Linked DNA regions of Homo sapiens: all the other regions are linked to region 1. Evidence: promoter capture Hi-C in human tissues and cell types (Jung and others, 2019). All regions are on one chromosome and are shown on one strand. The core of a region is centred on a gene start or on the middle of the fragment in contact, and the rest is flanking DNA. Distances in the headings are between cores, read along the strand shown.

Region 1 (2,968 bases), core at 415-2,914:
GCGAGCCATCCAAGTTGATGCCAAGTAAGATTTGCCCAGCTCAAAGTGAAAGTGTTTGCGTCTTGGTATCCGGAATCCTCAGCCCCAGTAGCAAAGCTTTAGTCATTCACCTTCATCCAATAGACGTTTGTGAACGTCCTGCTGTCCATTTTGTCAATAAACAGGCAGCCCTGCAGGTGGTCCATCTCGTGCTGGATGATGCGGGCTGCCCACCCGCTCGCCTGCCACACCACCTGTTCTCCATTGGGGTCCAGCCCTGCAAAGGAAGTTACAGCCCTGGTGAGTGGGAACAGCTGAACTGCATCATCCTCAACCTCCCTACCCCTGCCCCCGGTCCTGGCTGTTCCCATTGACAAGAGGCAACAGCAGATGGCAAATGTAGACAGCAGCTCCTCTTCTAACTGGAAAACGTCCCTCATCTCGGTCCATTACCAAGCGTTCAACCTGGTTCCCAACTCTGGTAATTAGGTTATCGAGCTCACTGTAGAGCTGAGATGAGAAATCATCTTTCTACGGTGCGACCCTTCCGAACACTCCTCCCACTTCTGAGGTACCTGTGGGCTCCCAACTCCTAACAGAGGTTCTGCAGCTTGAGACCCCACTTGTTTTTCTGACCATCTTGAACCGACGGGCTTGCTGTGCAGGAACAATCACCCCGACCCCAGCAGAGCCCGCATTCCGCGAGGCATCCTGTGGTACCACGGGGGAATGGCCTAGCCCCCTGGGCTGGGTCAGGCTGGCGGGGGCTAACCCCCACTTCTCCAACTCCACCGTGGCGGATCTAACTGGGGCCGAAGAGCGTGTTTGCCTCAGAGAGCAAGGGAGCAGAAAGCAGACGCCAGGCTGTCAGGTAACAGCGGAACTAGGGGACCTCTCCTCGCCCCTGCGTCCTATCTGAGCGGGCTCTACCCCACAGGAGCTTCTATCCGTCCTGAGGCCTCTCCGCTCCCGCATCCCACTTCGCTCCTGCGGGAGGTCCGGCGTATGAACCGCGACCACTTCTGCGCTCTCGCGGAGTCGGGCAGAAGAGACGCGCGCGCTGCTCCAGCAGCCCCGGTCCCCGCCGCCCGCACCTGAGATCTGCACCGCCTGGAAGCGGGGCACGCAGGCCAGGAAGCCGGCGACGCTCTCGCAGCCCTCGGGAAAGGTGACCAGGCGGCTGTCAAGCACTCGCAGGCTGGGGTTCACGAACACGCGCAGGGGGAAGGGCTCCATTTGGCGGAGCGCGCGCTGGCGGGGCGGGCACTCCCGACACAGCGCCTCGGGGAGCTCCAGCGCCAGCACCTGCCGCGGCACCCCCAGCTGCGGCGCGCTTAGGCCCACGCAGCGCCGCCGCCGCATCACCTGGACCAGCCGTTGCGTCAGCCGCTGCAGCTCGGGCCCGCCTAGCTGCGCCCGCTCCACCGGGGCCGCCACGCCGCGCAGCACCGGGTCCCCGACTTGGCACACGTGCGAGAACGGCGGTTCGGGAGGACCCAGCACCAGACGCCTCAGGTGGCGCCAATAGGAGCGCCGCAGCGCCGGGCCCTCGACGCCGTCCGGGGCGGCCGTGGAGCTGCAAGCCCGGACACCGACGGCTGCCGCCCCGCCCCACGGCACGGCCGCCCACAGTGGCCAAAGACTCAGCGCGCCCCACAGCCGGGCCATGGCGGCCCCCTTAACAGTGACCCGGCCCGCCCCTTCCGGCCGCAGCGCGGGGCACGCCGGGAAGCGCCGTCGGCCAGCACACAGCGAAGCCGCGACTGGATCCCCGCCTTCCTGCTTAGACTGGCAGTGAGCACCGCCCCCTTCCGCTCTCCTCCCGGGAGCGCCTTCCCGCCTCCCGAACCCGCCCCGGACCTTCCAGGGCGAGGCAGTCCTGGCCACCCCGCGCCGGGAACCTCACGCACCGCGTTCTGGAGGCAGGGGACGCCGGCTAGGGCCCCACGCTGGGCGGTTCGGCCTGCGTCTCCGCTCGCCCTCCCTCCGGGCAGGCTGGGCCCGCGGGCTCCAGGCGTGGCTCCTCGGCGGGAGGCTCTGGTGCTGGAGCTGTGAGCTCGGGCCCCAGCGCCTGGTCATCCAGGGTGAAAAGCGTCTCTCTCTTTGGCAGGATAAAGGCGAGGGGCTCCTGAATGGCGCCGATGTTCACATGCCCTAGGTTACCGTACTTGGAGAGCTGAGTGGGAGGAATGCCTAACCCAGACGTGGGGAAAGCAAAATGGAAAACAGTTACTAATAAAACTCAATATAGAAATTTAAGGGAGGCCGGGCGCGGTGGCTCACGCCTGTAATCCCAGCACTTTGGGAGGCCGGGGAGGGGGGGGCGGATCACCTGAGGTCAGGAATTCGAGACCAGCCTGACCCACACGGAGAAATCCCATCTCTCTTAAAAATACAACATTAGCCGGGCTTGGTGGCGCAGGCCTGTAATCCCAGCTACTTGGGAAGGCTAAGGCAGGAGAATCGCTTGAACCTAGGAGGTGGAGATTGCAGTTAGCCGAGATCGCGCCATTGCACTCCAGCCTGGGCCACAAGAGCAAAACTCCGTCTCAAAAAAAAAAAAAAAAAAAAAAAAGGAAATTTAAGGGAAAAAAAACGAGCCATTACTATTTTTTTTTTTGAGACAGTCTCGCTCTGTCGCCCAGGCTGGAGTGCAGTGGCGTGATTGCTGCTCACTGCAACCTCTGCCTCCCAGGTTCAAACAGTTCTCATGCCTCAGCCTCCGTGGTAGCTGGGATTACAGGCGCCCGCCACCATGCCAGGCTAATTTTTGTATTTTTAGTAGAGACGGAGTTACTATGTTGGCCAGGCTGGTCTCAAACTCCCAACCTCAGGTGATCCATCCGCCTCGGCCTCCCAAAGTGCTGGGATTACAGGCATGAGCCACTGCGCCCAGCCATCAATTACTATGTTTTAATACAGCAAAAACCACCTTTGTTACAGGGAATGGGAAGCTATACTGTGAAGCAGAACGTAACGGAACAGCAGT
Region 2 (3,097 bases), core at 351-2,850, 360 kb after region 1:
GACTTGGTCCAACAAGTTTTAGAGGCACAGCAGCAGTTATCTTCAGTTTTATTTTCTGCTCCAGATGGTAATGAGAATGTTCAAGAGCAGCTTAGTGCAGATATTTTTCAACAAGTCAGTCAAATTCAGAGTGGTGTAAGCCCTGGAATGTTTTCCTCAACAGAGCCAACAGTCCATACCAGACCAGATAATTTATTACCTGGAAGAGCTGAAAGTGTTCATCCACAGTCTGAAAACACGTTATCTAATCAACAGCAGCAGCAGCAGCAGCAACAGCAAGTGATGGAATCTTCAGCCGCAATGGTGATGGAGATGCAACAGAGTATCTGCCAGGCAGCTGCCCAGATTCAGTCAGAGTTATTCCCTTCAACTGCTTCAGCAAATGGAAACCTTCAGCAATCGCCAGTTTACCAGCAGACTTCTCACATGATGAGTGCATTGTCTACCAATGAGGATATGCAAATGCAGTGTGAATTGTTTTCTTCTCCTCCTGCAGTTTCTGGAAATGAAACTTCTACAACTACCACACAGCAGGTTGCAACCCCTGGCACTACCATGTTTCAGACATCAAGTTCAGGAGATGGAGAAGAAACTGGAACACAAGCAAAACAGATTCAGAACAGTGTCTTTCAGACCATGGTCCAAATGCAACATAGTGGGGACAATCAACCTCAAGTTAACCTTTTTTCATCCACAAAAAGTATGATGAGTGTTCAGAATAGTGGTACCCAACAACAAGGTAATGGTTTATTCCAGCAAGGGAATGAGATGATGTCACTTCAATCTGGAAATTTTTTGCAGCAGTCTTCTCATTCACAGGCCCAACTTTTTCATCCTCAAAATCCTATTGCCGATGCTCAGAACCTTTCCCAGGAAACTCAAGGTTCTCTCTTTCATAGTCCAAATCCTATTGTCCACAGTCAGACTTCTACAACCTCCTCTGAACAAATGCAGCCTCCAATGTTTCACTCTCAAAGTACCATTGCTGTGTTACAGGGCTCTTCAGTTCCTCAAGACCAGCAGTCAACCAACATATTTCTTTCCCAGAGTCCCATGAATAATCTTCAGACTAACACAGTAGCCCAAGAAGCATTTTTTGCAGCACCGAACTCAATTTCTCCACTTCAGTCAACATCAAACAGTGAACAACAAGCTGCTTTCCAACAGCAAGCTCCAATATCACACATCCAGACTCCTATGCTTTCCCAAGAACAGGCACAACCCCCGCAGCAGGGTTTATTTCAGCCTCAGGTGGCCCTGGGCTCCCTTCCACCTAATCCAATGCCTCAAAGCCAACAAGGAACCATGTTCCAGTCACAGCACTCAATAGTTGCCATGCAGAGTAACTCTCCATCCCAGGAACAGCAGCAGCAGCAGCAACAGCAGCAGCAACAGCAGCAGCAACAACAACAGAGCATTTTATTCAGTAATCAGAATACCATGGCTACAATGGCGTCTCCAAAGCAACCACCACCAAACATGATATTCAACCCAAATCAAAATCCAATGGCTAATCAGGAGCAACAGAACCAGTCAATTTTTCACCAACAAAGTAACATGGCCCCAATGAATCAAGAGCAACAGCCCATGCAATTTCAGAGTCAGTCCACAGTTTCCTCACTTCAGAACCCAGGTCCTACCCAGTCGGAATCATCACAGACCCCCTTGTTCCATAGCTCTCCTCAGATTCAGTTGGTACAAGGGTCACCTAGTTCTCAAGAGCAGCAAGTAACTCTCTTCTTATCTCCAGCATCCATGTCTGCCTTGCAGACCAGTATAAATCAACAAGATATGCAACAGTCTCCTCTTTATTCCCCTCAGAACAACATGCCTGGAATTCAAGGAGCCACATCTTCGCCTCAACCACAGGCTACTTTATTTCACAACACAGCAGGAGGCACAATGAACCAACTGCAGAATTCTCCTGGCTCATCTCAGCAGACATCAGGAATGTTCTTATTTGGCATTCAAAATAGTAAGAAACTCTAATTTTTCATTACTTAATTGGTCATTATTATTATTAGAAGGAAGCAGAGTGCAGTGGTGCGATCTCAGCTCACTGCACCTGCACCCTCTGCCTCCCAGGTTCAGGTGATTCTCCTGCCTCAGCCTCCCAAGCAGCTGGGATTACAGGTGTGCACAACCACGCCCAGCTAATTTTTGTATTTTTGTTAGAGGCGGGGTTTCACCATGTTGGCCAGGCTGGTGTTGAATTTTTGACCTCAAGTGATCCGCTGGCCTCGGCCTCCCAAAGTGCTGGGATTACAGGCGTGAGCCACCACACCTGTCCTGTATAGTTGTTTTAAGAGTACAGATTGTAGTTAGAACTCTATCACCTATAGACTATAAGATCTTGTACAAGTTATTTGGCTTTTATGGGTCTCAATTCTCTCATTTAAAATGGTGATAATATTACATACTTTACATGGATTTGGGGAGGATTAAATATGGCAATGTATAAAAATGTGTGTTTGCCATTTTAAGCTATAAACTTAAAAGGAAAATGAAGTCAGAATGACAGATAATACCTTACCCAGTTGAAGTAAGTAGTTTCTAAGGAGGTAGAAACTCATCTTTAATGTTTATATACCAAGGAATTTATATAGGACTTTTGATATTTAAGCAAAGTTGTATTTTTAGACTGCTTAAAGGAAACCTAAGATGAATTCCAGTGCCAGTCTGTGAAAACCTTTTTCTTGGACTATCAGGTGCCTAACTTTTAGTAATATACAAGGAGAATGCAGTAATGAATTTTCCCCAACAACTAATAAATATCTTTTCATGAATCTTTACTAATCAGATAGCTTCTATTTTTAATGTTTCTGCAGACTGTAGTCAGCTTTTAAGCTTCTGTTTTCAATGTCTCTGCAGACTGTAGTCAGCTTTTAACCTCTGGACCAGCTACATTGCCTGATCAGTTGATGGCCATAAGTCAGCCAGGCCAACCACAAAACGAGGGCCAGCCACCTGTGACAACACTTCTTTCTCAGCAAATGCCAGAGAATTCTCCACTGGCATCCTCTATAAACACCAACCAGAACATCGAAAAGATTGATTTGCTTGTTTCATTGCAAAACCAAGGGAACAACTTGACTGG
Region 3 (2,965 bases), core at 88-2,587, 350 kb before region 1:
GCAGTGAGCCGAGATCACGCCACTGCTCTCCAGCCTGGGCGACAGAGCAAGACTCCGTCTCAAAAAGAAAAAAAAAAAAAAAAGAAAAATAGCTTTTGTATGATAGTTTTCAGAGATTTCCATTTCACAGCACAGTCTTAAATTCAGGTGAAAAGGGAGGTTGGAAGTGTGAATAATTGGATACCAGTCTGGGAGTTTAGCATTCATGGATTTTGGCAGCAATAAACAGCAGTCAAGTGTTAGAGCTCACATATTTTTAAAGAAGAAATTTTCATCAAAACTCAGGATCAAATGAAATGCTCCCTGCTGAGTCTGCCTAGGCTGGCATCAGTGTAGTTCAATTCAACAAACATTTATATTAATATAAATGGAAATACTAATATGGCCAGAATTGAAGGTTGAAATCCAGACTAAGTAACTATTTTTCCTTTCCCGTTTCTCTTTTTCTTTCTCACATCAATTTTTTGATGGCTATAACTTATTACTGATATAATAAGGGGAAGGGAAAAGTCTATAGATTGAACTATACTTCCTACTTATATTAGACAGTTTGGATTTTTTTTTTTCAAGCTAGGATCTTGCTCTGTTGCCCAGGCTAGAGTGCAGTGGTGCCATCACTGGCTCACTAGAGCTTCCACCTCCTGGCCTCAAGCCATCATCCCACCTCAGCCTCCCGAGTAGCTAGGACTGTAGGCATGCATCACCATGCCCAGCTAATTTTTTTATTTTTTGTAGATGTGGGGTCTCACTATGTTGCCCAGGCTGTTCTCAAACTCCTGAGCTCAAGTGATCTGCCTGTGTCAGCCTCTCAAAGTGTTGGGATCACAGATGTGAACCACCACACCTGGCCCAGAAAAATATTTAAAAGTATGAAAAAGAAAATAATCACCTATAATTTCACTTTGGAGTAACTACTCTTTGTTTACATTTTGATGTATTTTCTTCAAGCTTTTTTTTTCTTTCTCAGAATTGTAATTACACTGTATGTATATATACTGCTTTTTTTTTTCTTGGTTAACATTATTTGTAAGTACTTTCCTATGTCATTAAATATTTCTTTGTTGTTGTTAGTTTTTTTTTAAATAGAAATGGTGTGTCACTATGTTGCCCAGGCTGGACTCCAACACCTGGGCTCAAGTGATCCTCCTGCCTCGGCCTCCCAAAGTGTTAGGATTACAGGCGTGAACTACCATGCCTGGCCTATTTCTTGAAAATATAATATTGACTGTGTTATAATCTAATTATGTAACTACCTGAATTTATTATACTTTTATTTAATTATCTCTGGGAACATATTGTTTAATTAGGTTGTTTCCAGTTTATTACTGATTATGACAAGTGTTCTGTTGATTATTCTTACATATAACTCCTTTTGATGATTCTTTGGTTCTTTCCTTGGGATTGGTTTCTACAAGGGAAGTTATTAGGTCAACATATACTTCTTGATATTTAGCACCGGCGGGTGCAGTGACTCATGCCTGTAATCCTAGCACTTCGAGAGGCTGAGGCAGGCAGGTCACTTGAGCCCAGGAGTTCAAGACCAGCCTGGACAACATGACGAAACCCCATCTCTACACAAAAATACAAAAATTAGCTGGGGGTGTGGTGGCAGGCACCTATGGTCCTAGCTACTCAGGAGGCTGAGGTGGGAAGATCACCTGAGCCCGGGAGGTCAAGGCTGCAGTGAGCCATGATTGTGCCACTGTACTCCAGCCTAGGTGACAGAGTGAGACCCTGTCTCAAAAAACACATTTTTTAAATTTAATTTTAAAAGATACTTAGTGCCAAGCTGTCCTCCAGAAATGTACAGTCTTTTCAGCAGTGAATTAAACTGCTAATATCTCATAGAGAAAAACTATTTCATGGCTTCAGACTAAATGTTTTTCGGGTTTTGTTTTGCCTTTTTTCTTTCTCTTCTGACACCTTTGGTATAAACTAAATGTTTAACCCTGACCAGCCATCTCCAAAATGTGCAGCTTTGCTCCCAGAATCAAGGAACCTGTCAGGGGAGGTGGGTGGGTGGAAGAGGGGAGAGAGGGACTGAGGGATACATGACTCAGTGTGAACCCTTTGCTTCCCTGGAAGAGCAACTCAGAGCTGGTGGTGTCATCATGACGTACAAAGAACAGTACTTCTTAATTATTTTTAGAGGCAGAATGTAGCCTTGTAATCAGCAAGCTAAGACAAGTTCCAGTTTACTCTAGGCCAGAGACTTCTAAAAGTCAGAACAAAAATAGCCAGATTCATGTTGCTCCATCTGAAGAGTTTGCTTTTAGGAGAGATCAGGAATTCATATTTTGAATGAGGACTGAGGGGTGAGAATTAAGTCTCTGATCTCTTCTGTCGTATGCCACGGTAAGTAGAGTGACCCCCAGGAATCCTGAGGCAAAGCAGCTCCTCAGATTACTCTATATTCTAGGAAAAGGGTGAGTCCTAGGCTTTACGGGGTGTTTCCGGCTGTAAAACACCCTGATTCAATGTGCTTTGTCAACTCTTTTCCATGTCACCTGCTTGATTTTTGTGTTTTAGTTTAGCAATCACTTTACCCCTTCAGTTCATCCAAGTGATGAGTATCACATGGCCCCAGGTCTCTAATGGTTCATGCAGCTCCAGAATGAAGCCATAATCCAATTTTAGAAAACGTATCATCTGGGCCGGGCGCAGTGGCTCACACCTGTAATCCCAGCACTTTGGGAGGCCCAGGTGGCAGATCACTTGAGGTCAGGAGTTCAAGACCTGCCTGGCCAATGTGGTGAAACCCGGTCTCTACTAGAAATACAAAAATTAGCCAAGAGTGATGGCACACACCTGTAATCCCAGCTACTCAGGAGGCTGAGGCAGGAGAATTGCTTGAACCTGGGAGGCAGAGGGTGCAGTGAGCCAGGATTGCGCCACTGCACTCCAGCCTGGGGATAGAGTGAGACCCCTATAATCTGTCTAGAGTGGAGAAAATTCAGCCCCAAAT
Region 4 (3,475 bases), core at 873-3,372, 450 kb after region 1:
CACTGCAGCCTTGACCTCCTGGGTTCTGGTGATTTCCCACCTCAGCCTCCTGAGTAGCTGGGACTACAGGCATGCACCACCATGTCTGACTAATTTTTTGTATTTTTTGTAGAAATGGGGTTTCTCTATGTTGCCTAGACTGGTCTCGAATTCCTGGGCTCAAGCAGTCTGCCCACATCAGCCTCCCAAAGTGCTTGGATTACAGGCATGAGCCACTACACCCAGCTGCCCCAGTTTTTCATTTGCATAATTTTCTATGCAAATTTTTTGCATTTTTTTAGTTCAGCCAAATTAGCTGAGGTCTAAAGCACTCCTTTTAGTGCAGTCACATTAGTTGAGGTTTCAACAAATTCATTAACAGTAAACCAGTGGTCCTCAACCCAGCTTCATATTAGGATCACTTGGGGAATTTTTAAATAACACAGCTGTCCCTGGCCCACCCCAGACCAATTAAATGGGAATCTCTGAGGGTAGGGTTTGGTGGTCAGTGTTGTTTTTTTTTAATGCTCCCCAGATAATTCAGATGTCTAGAAAGGATGGAGAACCACTGCTCCAAGGCATTTGATCCTTCATTAAGGATAATTTAACCTAACTCTACACATTCAATTACATCTGTTATCTTATTGTTATTCTTTCCATCTTACATTTCCACCCAACATTGGCCTCTTTCCTTCCTTGTATTCCCCAGACATGCTGTCACCTCAACAGCATTTTTTTTTTGAGACAGGGTCTTGCTCTGTCACCTAGCTGGAGTGCAGTGGCGTGATCATAGCTCACTGCAGCCTAGACCTCCCAGGCTCAAGCGATCCTCCCACCTCACCTCAGCCTCCCGAGTAACTGTGACTACAGGCATGTGCCACCATGGCTAATTTTTGTGGTTTTTGTTGAGACGAGGTTTTGCCCTATTGTTCAGGCTGGTCTCGAACTCCTGGATTCAAGTGATCCACCTGACTTGGCCTCCTAAGGTGCTGGGATTACATGCATGAGCCACCACTGCTGGCCATCATACCCTTTTATCTATCTGAATGTTTTGCAGATACTCTCAGTTTCTTCCTTCAGCTTCTTCAGATCTTTGCTCAAATGTCACCTTCTCAGTGAGACCTTCCTGTTCATGCCTTTTTAATTTCTATTTTGGCCAGGTGCTGTGGCTTACGTTTATAATCCCATCACTTTGGGAGGCCAAGGCAGGAGGATGGCTTGAGCCTAGGAGTTCAAGACCAGTCTGGACAACTTGGTAAAATCCTATCTCTACTAAAAATACCAAAATTAGCCAGGCATGGTGGCATGTACCTGTAACCCTAGCTACTCAGGAGGCTGAGGCATGAGAATCACTTGAATCTGGGAGGTGGAGGTGCAGTGAGCTGAGATCACGCCACAGCACTCCAGCCTGGGTGACAGAGCAAGACTGTCTCAAAAAAAAAAAAAAAAGAAAAGAAAAGAAAAAGTGAAAAGCATGCAAATTTATATCATATAAATTTACGTGACTAAGACCTGGAGAAACAGATAATGTGTATTTATGTTTAGGTTTGATGAAGAGTGGACAATCGTGGAGAAATACGATTGGACAAAAGGGGTATGATTGACTGGTAATACACTGGGGGAAATTTAACAAGTCCTATTTGTTCAGATTCTTCTCTGTGTCCTTTTGTTTTCAGAGAAGGATATTTCTTTCCTTGGGGTATAAGGAGGGCATCTCTCAAAGGAGGGTCATATGACCCGTTTCAGGGGAAGGTCAGAAAATCTTTCATAGGCTTTATGACCTGCTTTATGGGAGAAGGGTGAGAGGAAGCTGAGAGTGACTTCCTGCTTTTCCTGTTTTCTTAAATGCCAAGGTGTCATGTTTTGGGGTAAGGTATCTTAAACCCCATCAGCCATGTCCTGTCTACTGATGAGCCCATCAAGGCATTCTTCACTTCTATTACAGTGTTTATGATTTCTAGCATTTTCTGTTGACTCTTATAGTTGCTATATCTCTCCTTACATTGCCCATCTATTCTCATGTGTTGTCTGCTGTTTCCATTAGAGCCCTGAACCTAGTAATCATAGTTATTTTGCATTACCTGTTTGATTATTCTAAAATCTGTCCTATCTGAGTCAGGTTCTGATGCTTGCTTTATTTCTTTTTCACACTGTTTCTTCTTGCCTTTTAGTGTGTTTTGTAATTTTTCATTGAGAGCTAGACATTGACCTTCTTCCTGCTGATCAGTTCCTCTTCCTTACCCCTCCCTAGTTCTTGTTTAAAAAAGAAAGCTGGACATGATGTATTAGGTAATAGGAAATGAGATAAATAGTCCATTAGTATTGTTAGTATGGTGTTTCATGTTAATCTGGCTAAGAGTTGGTCTGTGTTTAATGATTGCTGTAACTGTTGGTATCTGAGGCTTCAAATTCCTCTAGTGTCCTTGTTTCTGTCTCCCCTGTTATCTTTGGTTTTCCCTAAAAACTCCTTCTTAAATAGAGTGTATGCCTTTCAGCCCTAATTCCCTGTTGTTGTACTGGAGCCCTGTTGGTGTGACAGCAAAGTATGGGGGAGGGGAAGCATTCTATAGCCTCATGGTCAAATCCTAGTCTTTTAGTGGGCCTGTGTCCCAGGCTATGACTGTCACTCATATTTAACTGTTTTTCTCCCCTTAGATGAAACAGAAAGGCTAAAGAGGGCTGGAGTCAGGGGACTTCTCTTCCACCAGGTAGGATAAGGCTCTGGTAAAGTCTTCTTCCCTGGAGAGTAGGCCATTGCTCTGGGCCTATTTCACTATGGTTACTTCCCACAACTAGAGCTAGGAGGGAATCTTTCTTGACTCTTTACCAGGATAATCTTGTAAAGAAGGATTTTTTCTTCTGTTTTATTCAGCAGTATACCACTAGCACCAAAACCAGTGCAGAGTACATAATAGATGCTCAATAAATATTTGTCAAATGAATGAATGCCTCTTATCTAAGCTCTAGAGATTGTTACCTAGATGTGGGAAGTTTCTTAACTTATAATGATAATAGGCCGGGCGCAGTGGCTTACGCCTGTAATCCCAGCACTTTGGGAGGCCAAGGTGGGCGGATCACCTGAGGTCAGGTGTTCGAGACCAGCCTTAACATGGAGAAACCCCGTCTCTACTAAAAATACAAAACATTAGCTGGGCGTGGTGGTGCATGCCTGTAATCCCAGCTACTCTGGAGGCTGAGGCAGGAGAATTGCTTGAACCTGGGAGGCGGAGGTTGTGGTGAGCCGAGATTGTGCCATTGCACTCCAGCCTGGGCAACAAGAGCGAAATTCCATCTCGAAAAAAAAAAAATAAAAAAAATTATAATAAACTGATGACATTTCTCTGAATGAAATTAGTCCCTAGTGTAGTATTTGCTTATTAGGTTCTGTAGTGTTTGTTTAATCTAAAACCCTACCTTAGATGGGATTGTTGTAGACCAGTAGTCTCAAGCTTTTTTGACTGCAACCTTTAGTAAGACATACATTTTATATCTTAAA
Region 5 (3,262 bases), core at 1-2,500, 460 kb after region 1:
GGAGATGAGTTAGAGTGAACTAATATGGTTTTAAACTGGGGGCTACAGACTTTATTACCTTAGCTAATAATTAGCAAGTCTAGGTCAAAGCAGAAGTTGGCCTATTGGACCTGGTAACATCCTGAGGTCTCTGTTTTGGGGCCATGTTATTCAGCCACGCACACTTACTTCTTTTCTTTTTTTCTTTCTTTTTTTTTTTTTGAGACGGAGTCTCGCTCTATCGCCGAGGCTGGAGTGCAGTGGCGTGATCTTGGTTCACTGCAACCTCTGCCTCCCAAGTTCAAGCAATTCTCCTGCCTCAGCCTCCAAAGAAGCTGGGATTACAGGCACCTGCCACCACACCCGGCTAATTTTCGTATTTTTAGTAGAGACAGGGTTTCACCGTATTGGTCAGGCTGGTCTCAAACTCCTGACCTCAGGTGATCCACCCACCTCGGCCTGCCAAAGTGCTGGGATTACAGGCGTAAGCCACTGCACCTGGCCTCTTTTCTTTTTTTGAGACAGTCTTTCTCTGTTGCTCAGGCTGGAATGTAGTGGCATGATTACAGCTCACTGCAGCCTCAAAATAGGCTCAAGCAATCCTCCTGCCTCAGCCTCCTGAGTAGCTAGGACTTTAGGCATACACTACCATACTTAGCTAATTCTTAAATTTTTTTTATAGAGATAGGTCTTGCTGTGCTGTCCAGGCTGGTTTCAAACTCCTGGACTCAAGCAGTTCTCCCACCTTGGCCTCTTAAAGTGCTGGGATTACAGGTGTGAGCCACCGTGCCTGGCCCCCACCTCGGCCTCTTAAGGTGCTGGGATTATAGATGTGAGCCTCTGCACCTGTCCAGCACATACTTCTAAAGGCTTTTTTGTTGCCTTTCTTGAAGGTGAATTTTCTTACCAGGGTGGAAAGAGCCAGCTTGATAATACTGGTGTATCTCATTATACACATATTTAACCTACACAGATTTGGTAATACCATTCAGGAAAATGGTGGGGGGAAAGAGAAAGAGAGAAATAACCATTTAAATAGCGTAGGTGGTTCTTTTTCCCGTGCATTTCATGAAGAAAGCTGATAGTGTAACCTGTGGGGTGTGACTGCGCGGTTTCCAGTTCCCTTGTGCCTGCCCACAGTGTGATCCTGGTGTTTTAAGGTATATTTTTAAATGCATCGAGGCCCTTAAACGTAGGACAGCTATTTTATTTGATATTTTACTAGAGAAACACTGAAAAACTGATCTCTGAAAAGCATAGTATAATAAAACAAGAAACAAGCTGTTTGGAACTTATTGAGAGAGCAGATGCCAGACTCTATTGTGGTCCCTTCTTAAGAGCTTTTTCAGTGTATAATTTTGTCTTTATATGATTTTTGCCTGATTTGTTGACTTTAAAAGCTAAATCTCACATAAAGTCGTGACTCTGTGTATAAAGATATATTTCATGAAAGAGACTTTCTAGATAAACTTGCTCATATCTTTATTTTAGCCTGTCTTTTAAGAACAAGAAATATTCAAAATATCACCCTGCTGATTAACTGTAGGTTACAAATGTGTCAGTGGAGAGACCTGGCCAACTCCACATTAAGCAGATGTTCAAACTTAGTATCCCCAATGGCAGGACAACCTAATGTATGTGGTAAGAGGTACACGACATAACTTATGTAGTATTCTTCTTTCTTTTGAGTCAGGGTCTCACTCTGTCACCTAGGCTAGAGTGCAGTGGCACAATTACAGCTCACTACAGCCTCGACCTCCTGGGCTCCAGGGATCCTCCTATCTCAGCCTCTCGAGTAACTGGAACTACAGGTGTGAGCCACTACACCTGGCTAATATTTTATTTTTTGTAGATTTGGGGTCTTGCTGTGGTGCCCAGGCTTGTCTCGAACTCCTGGGCTCAGGTGGCCCTTCTGCCTCGGCCTCCTAAAGTGTTGCAATTACAGGGTGAGCCACTGTGCCTGGCCTTTAAACCGAATCTAATCATGAGGAAACAATTGTAATCACCCAGTGGGTTCTTCTTGCCCACTGCACAGATAAAATAAATTCACTGCTGGGCGCGGTGGCTCATGCCTGTAATCCGAGCACTTTGGGAGGCCTAGGTGGGATCATGAGGTCAGGAGTTCAAGACCAGCCTCGCCAAGATGGTGAAATCCTGTCTCTACTAAAAATACAAAAAAATTAGCTGGGTGTGATGGCAGGCGCCTGTAATCCCAGATACTTGGGAGGCTGAGGCAGAGAATTGCTTGAACCTGGGAGGCAGAGGTTGCAGTGAGTCAAGATTGCACCACTGCACTCCAGCCTGGGTGACAGAGCAAGACTCCATCTAAAAAAATAATAATAATAAATAAATAAATTCACTGGGACTGTAGCATTGCATTAGAGAAAGAGTTTAATTGACACAAAACAGGCCATATGGGAGACAGAGTTATCACTCAGATCAGTCTTCCTGGAGGCTCAGAGATTAGGGTTTTTATAGACAATTTGACAGGTAGGGGACTAGGGAATGGGTGCTGCTTATTGGTTGGGGATGAGATTATAGAGGTGTGGAAAATGGTCCTGTGCTGAGTCCACTTCTGGGTGGGGCCACAGGATAATTTGTTTCACGAGTCAAGTCACGGGCCCAGGCAAAGTCAGTAGATTGCCAGAAAGAAAAAATCTCAAAAGACCAACCTTAGGTTCTGCAATAGCGATGTTATCTATGGGAGCAATTGGGGAAGTCACAAATCTTGTGACCTCTGGCTTCATGACTCCTGAGCAGTAAGGGATTATAGAAACTATACCTACCTCTTATTAGAATTCAAGCCCCTCCCATAATCCTAACCTTGTGGCTGTTGATTAGTTTTACAAAGGTGGTTTCGTTTTGGGAAGGGCTGTTATTATCCTTGCTTTTTTTTTTTTTTTTTTTTTTTTTGAGACAGGGTCTTGCTCTGTTACCCAGGCTGGAGTGCGTTGGACAATCTCAGCTTACTGCACTTTCTGCCTCCTGGGTTCAAGCGATTCTCGTGTCTTAGCCTCCTGAATAGCTGGAACTACAGGCGTGCGCCACCACGCCCGGCTAAGTTTTGTACTTGTAGTAGAGACGGGGTTTCACCAAGTTGGCCAGGCTGGTTTCAAACTCCTGGTCTCAAGTGATCTACCTCCCTTAGCCTCCCAAAGTGCTGGGATTACAGGCATAAGCCACCATGCCCAGCTATCCTTGCTTTAAGATTAAACTATAGGCTGGGTGTGGTGGCTCATGCCTGTAATCCCAGTACTTTAGGAGGCTGAGGCGGGTGGATGAC
Region 6 (3,082 bases), core at 240-2,739, 320 kb after region 1:
GAGTATAAAAACATGTCTTGCCAAGTTAATCGATATGCTCTATGAATTTTCCTTGTATTTCAAACTAAAATTTTCCCTTTTCTATTATAAAATTGATACATATGAATTACAAATATTTGAAAAATACAAGAAAACCTCATAATCTAGTCACTCAGTAAATCTGCTATTATCATTTTGCAGTATTTTCTTTCATCTCTTTGTATGTATATTTGGGGGATATTTCTACATAGTTTCAATAAATGAATATTTTTACTTTAAGATTAGTATAAAACAGAATATCATAGACTTTCATGTGTGAGGAACTGCACACTAGTTAGACCAAATGTTTGAATCTGTACCCAGAATGATGAAAAGAAAAACAGGGTTTACTGCCCATTGTTCCAGCTTCAACTTGATACTTATGTTCATAGAATTTATTCTTCCAGGGCCTTTTAAATGACTTGCACAAGTAATCTTTGATTTACTTATGTCAAATTTACACGAATGGCATTCCTTGTCCAGTTAGGATCTTTCTCATCTTAATATTACAGAAGCTTCTTTATCCCTCTGCTTTCCTTTCTTTGTCCCTTTCTTCTTCTTTGCCTTCATCAACAAACATTTCTTCAGCACCTGTTATGTTTCAGGAAGTGTGCCAGGTTCAGGGAATATAAAGATGATTAAGCACAGTATTGCGCCTTGAGAACTTTTCCTCTCATCTATCAGTCTTACTGAATTCCTATGCTAGTTTCATTCCTTCTTTGCTCCATTCTTTTGCCTCTTTCCTAGCCAAGGATTCAACCTACTCCCCATTTCCATTGAAGATAGTGCCTTTCCTCACTTTGTTCTTGATGATTAAGGCAACAACTTGGTTACAGCTGGAGGGGTAAACATTAGAGCCAGGTTTAAGCCTGCTTAGCTTCTCTGTGTTTGAAGTCGTAATATTCCTACTGGAATCTGGTTGCTTTTAGAGGAGATTTTTCTTCACAGTCATCTGGCTCCTGGATCTTTGATGTGAGTCAAAACTTAGGACTAGGAGGGTCACAGAGAAAGCTATGACCCTGACTTTATTTAAAAACATACGTGAATTTTTTTTTTTTTTTTGAGACGGAGTTTTGCTCTTGTTGACCAGGCTGGAGTGCAATGGCACGATCTGGGCTCACTGCAACCTGCACCTCCTGGGTTCAAGTGATTCTCCTGCCTCAGCCTCCCGAGTAGATGGGATTACAGGTGCCTGCCACCACTCCTGGCTAATTTTTTGTAGTTTTAGTAGAGACGGGGTTTCACCATGTTGGCCAGGATGGTCTCAAACTCCTGACCTCAGGTGATCCACCCCGCTTGGCCTCCCAAAGTGCTGGAATTACAGGTGTGGGACACCACACCATTGCTCAAAAGGAAAGATAACTAACAATATTGTTTTTACTTGTTTTTATTATGTATTTGCAGTGCTTCAACTATTTTACAGATTAAATGTGTTTGCCTGAAGTCATAACCACCATTTGGGATACTGTTTTTCTTTGAACATGCATTCCACATAGCAAATGCATTATAAATAAATGTTAAAAAGCATAACTAAAAAAAATAAGGGCCAGGTGCAGTGGCTCATGCTTGTAATCCCAGCACTTTGGGAGACTGAGGCGGGAGGATCACCTGAGGTCAGGAGTTCGAGACCAGCCTGGACAACATGGTGAAACCCCATCTCTAACAAAAATATAAAAATTAGCTGGGCTTGGTGGCACACGCCTGTAATCCCAGCTACTTGGGAGGCTGAGGCAGGAGAATCACTTGAACCCAGGAAACAGAGGTTACAGTGAGCTGAGATTGTGCCACTGCACTCCAGCCTGGATGACAGAGTAAAACTCCATCTCAGAAAAAAAAAAAAAAAAAGGTAGAATGCTGGTGCTGTAAAGCCCAGATTGTAAAAATTTTTATTGAGGGCTTTAATTACTTAACTAATCACAGATAAAAATAATCTGAAAAATCACACTCCTAGAAAAGATTGTTTAGAGTAAAGCTAATTTCCCAATAAAAATTGAATCGCTAATTTTTTATCTAATTTCTTCAGTTTGGTTTACTGAGAAGGATACTCAAAAGAATAAGCTACATATACCTTCATTTGGTTTGTAGGCCATTTTGTATGGGGGTATGTAGGGTTTTTGGGGGTTTGTTTTTTGTTTTCGCTACCCTCACTTCTTTTACTGTGCAGTTAAAAAATAACAGTAGTTAATCTTATAGCTTTATATAAATTTTGGAATTTATATGTGGAATGCATACATGGAATTTTTAAATCTTATTTTGACTGAAGTACAATGTTAAAGGTTATAGTGACATTAGCTATTCTTTCCTGTTAGTCTCAGTTTATTGCGCTCAATCTTCCTCCCTTCCTCCTACCACTCACATACGTTCATTTTCTTTTCTGTCAAACATACTTTGTTTTATTTTTGCATCATATAGTAAACTTTTTTACAAAACCTTTTTAAAGATACTTTGCTCATGTATCTTCCTTTAGGCAATATTTTATTTTGCCAGCAAGCTGAATAGTTGTTTTTACTATTATTGCCAGTTCTGTTTCTTCCTTTGTCTTAATGGCTTTTTTTTTTTATCAAAAAACTCTTTTTGATACTTTCTCCATGTTGTGCTTTGATTTCTCAGAACATTGGAAAACCAAAAAGGAACTGGAGTAAAGAAGAGCCCTATGTTGTGTGGACAATATCCTGTTAAAAGTGAGGGAAAGGAGCTGAAGATAGTTGTACAACCTGAGACACAGCACCGAGCTCGGTACCTGACTGAGGGCAGCCGTGGCTCAGTGAAAGATAGAACACAGCAAGGCTTTCCTACAGTAAAGGTATTTACTTTATTTATCATTTGAATTTTAGTTAAAATGTAAAGGGGAATGAGAATATGTCCTGAAAAGTAAAATATTTTCAAATCATGAATTTTCTTCCCTCATATTTGATATTTGAATTAGATTCATCCCAAACTTTAGAAAGAATTTTTTTTTTTTTTTTTTGAGACAGAGTCTCACTCTGTCACCCAGGCTGGAGTGCAGTGGTGTGATCTCAGCTCACTGCAGCCTCTGCCTCCGGGGTGCAAGTAATCATGCCTC
Region 7 (3,472 bases), core at 498-2,997, 430 kb before region 1:
TAATAAATATTAGTGGAATGGATCATTTATTTCTCCAGCATCTCACAATTGCATATTTTAAATTATTTCCACTTTCTGGATGATCTAATGTTATTACCTCAGAACGTAAATTCCTGTTGGTCATAGTCCATGTAACATTCATGGGTGACTGCTATCCTGTTTGGATTTCACATCACATTCAAAGTGCTGCTGTTTGTTGAAGTGTTGAAATATAATTATATATTCATGGTTAACTTGGTAAAGTTGTAAAACACCCCTTCAGTTTGATGGACTTGAGGAAAATAGAAAAACACATAGATTGCAAACAGAATTATCAGTACAAACGCAAGCTGCTATTCTGCCCAGCAACAGTTATCAAGAAGATGTTTTTGGCCAGGCACGGTGGCTCACACCTGTAATCCCAGCACTTTAGGAGGCTGAGGCGGGTGGATCACCTGAGGTTAGGAGTTTGAGACCAGCCTGGCCAACATGGTGAAACCCCATCTCTATTAAAAATACAAAAATTAGCCAGGCATGGTAGTGCATGCCTGTAGGCCTAGCTACTTGTGAGGCTGAGGCAAAAGAATTGCTTGAATCAGGAGGTGGAAGTTACAGTGAGCTGGGATCGTACCACTGCACTCCAGCCTGGGCAACAGGGCGAGACCATCTCAAAAAAAAAAAAAAAAAAAAGAAGGACCAGGCGTGGTGGCTCACACCTGTAATCCCAGCACTTTGGGAGGCCGAGGTGGGTAGATCACTTGAGGTCAGGAGTTCAAGACCAGCCTGGCCAACATGGTGAAACCCCATCTCTACTAAAAATATAAAAATTAGCCGGTTGTGGTGGCTGGCGCCTGTAGTCACAGCTACTCAGGAGGCTGAGGCAGGACTGTCACTCGAACCCAGGAGATGAAGGTTGCAGTAAGCCAAGATTGCGCCACTGCACTTCAGCCTAGGTGACAGAGTGAGACTCTGTCTCAAAAAAAAAAAAAGAAGTTTATTTAAAGAAACTCTATAAGAGCAGCTTGGATTTTATATCTTTAGATCCAGAGTTTTTACTTTTCTGGAATTAAATATAATTGTTTGGAATTTACTCTTTATTGTTGAATTTTAAAGCGTGACTAAAGTAGTGCTTCTTAAGATAATTGTCATGTGTTTTTGTTTTGTTTTGTTTTGTTTTTTGGTGCTGAGTGTTGCTCTGTCGCTCAGACTGGAGTGCAATGGCATGATCTTGGCTCACTGCAACCTCTGCCTCCTGGGTTCAAGCAATTCTCTTGTCTCAGCCTGCCAAGTAGCTGGGACTACAGGTGCGCGCCACCATGCCAGGCTAACGTCGTGTTGTTTTAGGAGTATTTGAATACAGTACTTCATTTTCACAATTAAAATGGCTCACAGAAGCTTAGAAGGGACGTTTATCCATTTTGGCTTTTCCTTTAACATAGAATGTTGTGGAGAAAACATGACTGATCTGAAGGACTCTGGAAGATTCTGGGATAATACAGGAAATATCCTAAGCTAAATATGTAGGTTATTCATTCTATTAGAGGAATATGAAGTCCATGTTCTTAGTGAACTGGCACATTGAGACATACTGCCTGATGAGATGGGCTGCCAAATTAGTAATTGTACTTTTCAATGAGATGAAGAAACATCTATCTTTTTTTTCTCAACTTAGTCTGAAAAAATTTTATGTCATTGGTCACTGAAATAACACATATTCTTTGTACAATACAAAAAACACATAAAGAGGAAAACAAAAGTCAACTAGTATCTTATTTTCTGTTCACATTATTTTAGTGTTTTGCTTTTTAGTGCATCTTCAATGCCTTTGTATTTGTTTATATGATAATATGGTATAATAATATAGTATCTTGAGCTGGGTATGGTGGTTCATACTGGTAATCCCAGCACTTTGGAAGGCCAAGGTGTGAGGATTGCTTGAGGCCAGGAGTTCAAGACCAGCCTGGGCAACATAGCGAGACTCCATTTCTTAAAAAAGGCCAGGCGCAGTGGCTCATGCCTGTAATCCCAGCATTTTGGGAGGCCGAGACGGGCGGATCACCTGAGGTCAAGAGTTTGAGACCAGCCTGACCAACATGGAGAAACCCCGTCTCTACTAAAAATACAAAATTAGCCGGGCGTGGTGGCATGGTGGCGCATGCCTGTATTCCCAGCTACTTGGGAGGCTGAGGCAGGAGAATTGCTTGAACCTGGGAGGCAGAGGTTGCGGTGGGCCGAGATTGTGCCATTGCACTCCAGTCTGGGCAACAAGAGTGGAACTGTGTCTCAAAAAAAAATAAAATAAAATTGGGGCTGGGCGCAGTGGCTCACGCCTGTAATCACAGCACTTTGGAAGAGGCTGAGGTGGGTGGATCACGAGGTCAGGAGTTTGAGACCAGCCTGGCCAACATGGTGAAACCCTGTCTCTACTAAAAATACAAAAATTAGCCAGGCGTGGTGGCGGGCACCTGTAATCCCAGCTACTCAGGAGGCTGAGGCAGGAGAATCACTTGAACCCAGGAGGTGGAGGTTGCAGTGAGCCGAGATTGCGCCATTGCACTCCAGCCTAGGTGACGAGCGAAACTCTGTCTCAAAAAAAAAAAAAAGTTAAAAAAATAGTAAGTACACACACAGGTGTATATATATGTATACATAGTATCTTTGTCTCTTGTCAGAATAATTAAAAACTAAAAGCCATAGTACCTCATGGGAAAGTACAAAAATTTCTTGCCCAGCCTGGGCAATGTGGCAAAACCCGGTTTCTACAAAAAAATACAAAAATTAGTTGGTTGTGATGGTGCCCCTCTGTAGTCCCAGCTACTTAGGAGGCTGAAGTGGGAGGATTGCCTCAGACTGGGAGGTTGAGGCTGCAGTGAGCCACGATCGCACCACTGCACTCCAGCCTAGGCAATGAGTGAGACCCTGTCTCAAAAATTAAAAAAGAACAAAACAAAAAATGGCCGAGCACAGTGGCTCACCTGTAATGCCAGCACTTTGGGAGGCCGAGGTGGGCAGATCACGAGGTCAGAAGTTCGAGACCAGCCTGGCCAACATAGTGAAACCCTGTCTCTACTAAAAATACAAAAAATTAGCTGGGCATGGTGGTGGGCGCCTGTAATCCCAGCTACTCAGGAGGCTGAGGCAGGAGAATCGCTTGAACCCAGGAGGCGGAGGTTGCAGTGAGCCAAGATCGCGCCATTGCATTCCAGCCTGGGCAACAGGAGCGAGATTCTATCTCAAATAAATAAATAAATAAATAATTATAGAAATTTTCGCAGTAACCATAGCACTGATTTAGCCAGATTTTATAACTTGGTAATCATGTTCAACCTACTCATTTTTCTGAACCTTTATGCATTTTCTTATCTCGGCTAATTGGTTCCTTTCAGTTGAGACTGCATGTCCTCCCATGATGATCACATCTTTTTCTGCTGCCCATAACCCTTCAGTGGCTCATCAGAAAAAAGTCAAAGTTCCTTTGAATGACATCCAAGGC

Evidence for each region. The method cuts DNA at HindIII sites, captures the fragments that hold promoters and counts their contacts. A contact is called where the count stands out against the background at its distance.
Region 2: a fragment that was not itself captured here is called in contact with the fragment with the promoter of PDF in region 1 in 4 of the 25 tissues and cell types used here (lymphoblastoid cells, mesenchymal stem cells, small bowel and 1 more).
Region 3: a fragment that was not itself captured here is called in contact with the fragment with the promoter of PDF in region 1 in 1 of the 25 tissues and cell types used here (lymphoblastoid cells).
Region 4: a contact is called between a fragment that was not itself captured here and the fragment with the promoter of PDF in region 1, in 1 of the 25 tissues and cell types used here (spleen).
Region 5: a fragment that was not itself captured here is called in contact with the fragment with the promoter of PDF in region 1 in 1 of the 25 tissues and cell types used here (dorsolateral prefrontal cortex).
Region 6: a fragment that was not itself captured here is called in contact with the fragment with the promoter of PDF in region 1 in 5 of the 25 tissues and cell types used here (IMR-90 fibroblasts, hippocampus, lymphoblastoid cells and 2 more).
Region 7: a contact is called between a fragment that was not itself captured here and the fragment with the promoter of PDF in region 1, in 1 of the 25 tissues and cell types used here (H1 embryonic stem cells).

Annotation. Positions count from the first base shown.
Region 1 is chr16:69,328,924-69,331,891 of GRCh38, forward strand. PDF (peptide deformylase, mitochondrial) reads right to left here and starts at 1,665. Exons shown (of 2, transcript NM_022341.2): 1 at 1,074-1,665; 2 at 1-256. The coding sequence starts at 1,647. The coding sequence ends at 99. It overlaps COG8 (component of oligomeric golgi complex 8), which reads right to left. Exons shown (of 6, transcript NM_032382.5): 5 at 1,890-2,172; 6 at 1-256. The coding sequence ends at 1,916. RefSeq lists enhancers at 1,031-1,678, 2,327-2,968 and silencers at 1,303-1,682, 1,713-2,102. The HindIII fragment of the contact is 3,727 bases long and covers 1-2,359 here.
Region 2 is chr16:69,692,265-69,695,361 of GRCh38, forward strand. NFAT5 (nuclear factor of activated T cells 5) reads left to right here. Exons shown (of 15, transcript NM_138713.4): 13 at 1-1,975; 14 at 2,872-3,097. Among named protein-coding and RNA genes, the nearest start is that of SNORD13H, 15 kb to the right of the region's middle. The HindIII fragment of the contact is 7,332 bases long and covers 1-3,097 here.
Region 3 is chr16:68,983,972-68,986,936 of GRCh38, forward strand. All of the region lies in intron 15 of TANGO6 (transport and golgi organization 6 homolog), which reads left to right. Among named protein-coding and RNA genes, the nearest start is that of HAS3, 120 kb to the right of the region's middle. The HindIII fragment of the contact is 7,055 bases long and covers 1-2,965 here.
Region 4 is chr16:69,773,555-69,777,029 of GRCh38, forward strand. All of the region lies in intron 1 of WWP2 (WW domain containing E3 ubiquitin protein ligase 2), which reads left to right. Among named protein-coding and RNA genes, the nearest start is that of WWP2, 13 kb to the left of the region's middle. The HindIII fragment of the contact is 4,000 bases long and covers 123-3,475 here.
Region 5 is chr16:69,791,045-69,794,306 of GRCh38, forward strand. The region is part of intron 2 of WWP2 (WW domain containing E3 ubiquitin protein ligase 2); the gene reads left to right. Among named protein-coding and RNA genes, the nearest start is that of WWP2, 30 kb to the left of the region's middle. The HindIII fragment of the contact is 7,902 bases long and covers 1-3,262 here.
Region 6 is chr16:69,650,608-69,653,689 of GRCh38, forward strand. It overlaps NFAT5 (nuclear factor of activated T cells 5), which reads left to right. Exons shown (of 15, transcript NM_138713.4): 5 at 2,629-2,821. Among named protein-coding and RNA genes, the nearest start is that of SNORD13H, 57 kb to the right of the region's middle. The HindIII fragment of the contact is 9,035 bases long and covers 1-3,082 here.
Region 7 is chr16:68,902,967-68,906,438 of GRCh38, forward strand. All of the region lies in intron 9 of TANGO6 (transport and golgi organization 6 homolog), which reads left to right. Among named protein-coding and RNA genes, the nearest start is that of TANGO6, 61 kb to the left of the region's middle. The HindIII fragment of the contact is 3,745 bases long and covers 1-3,472 here.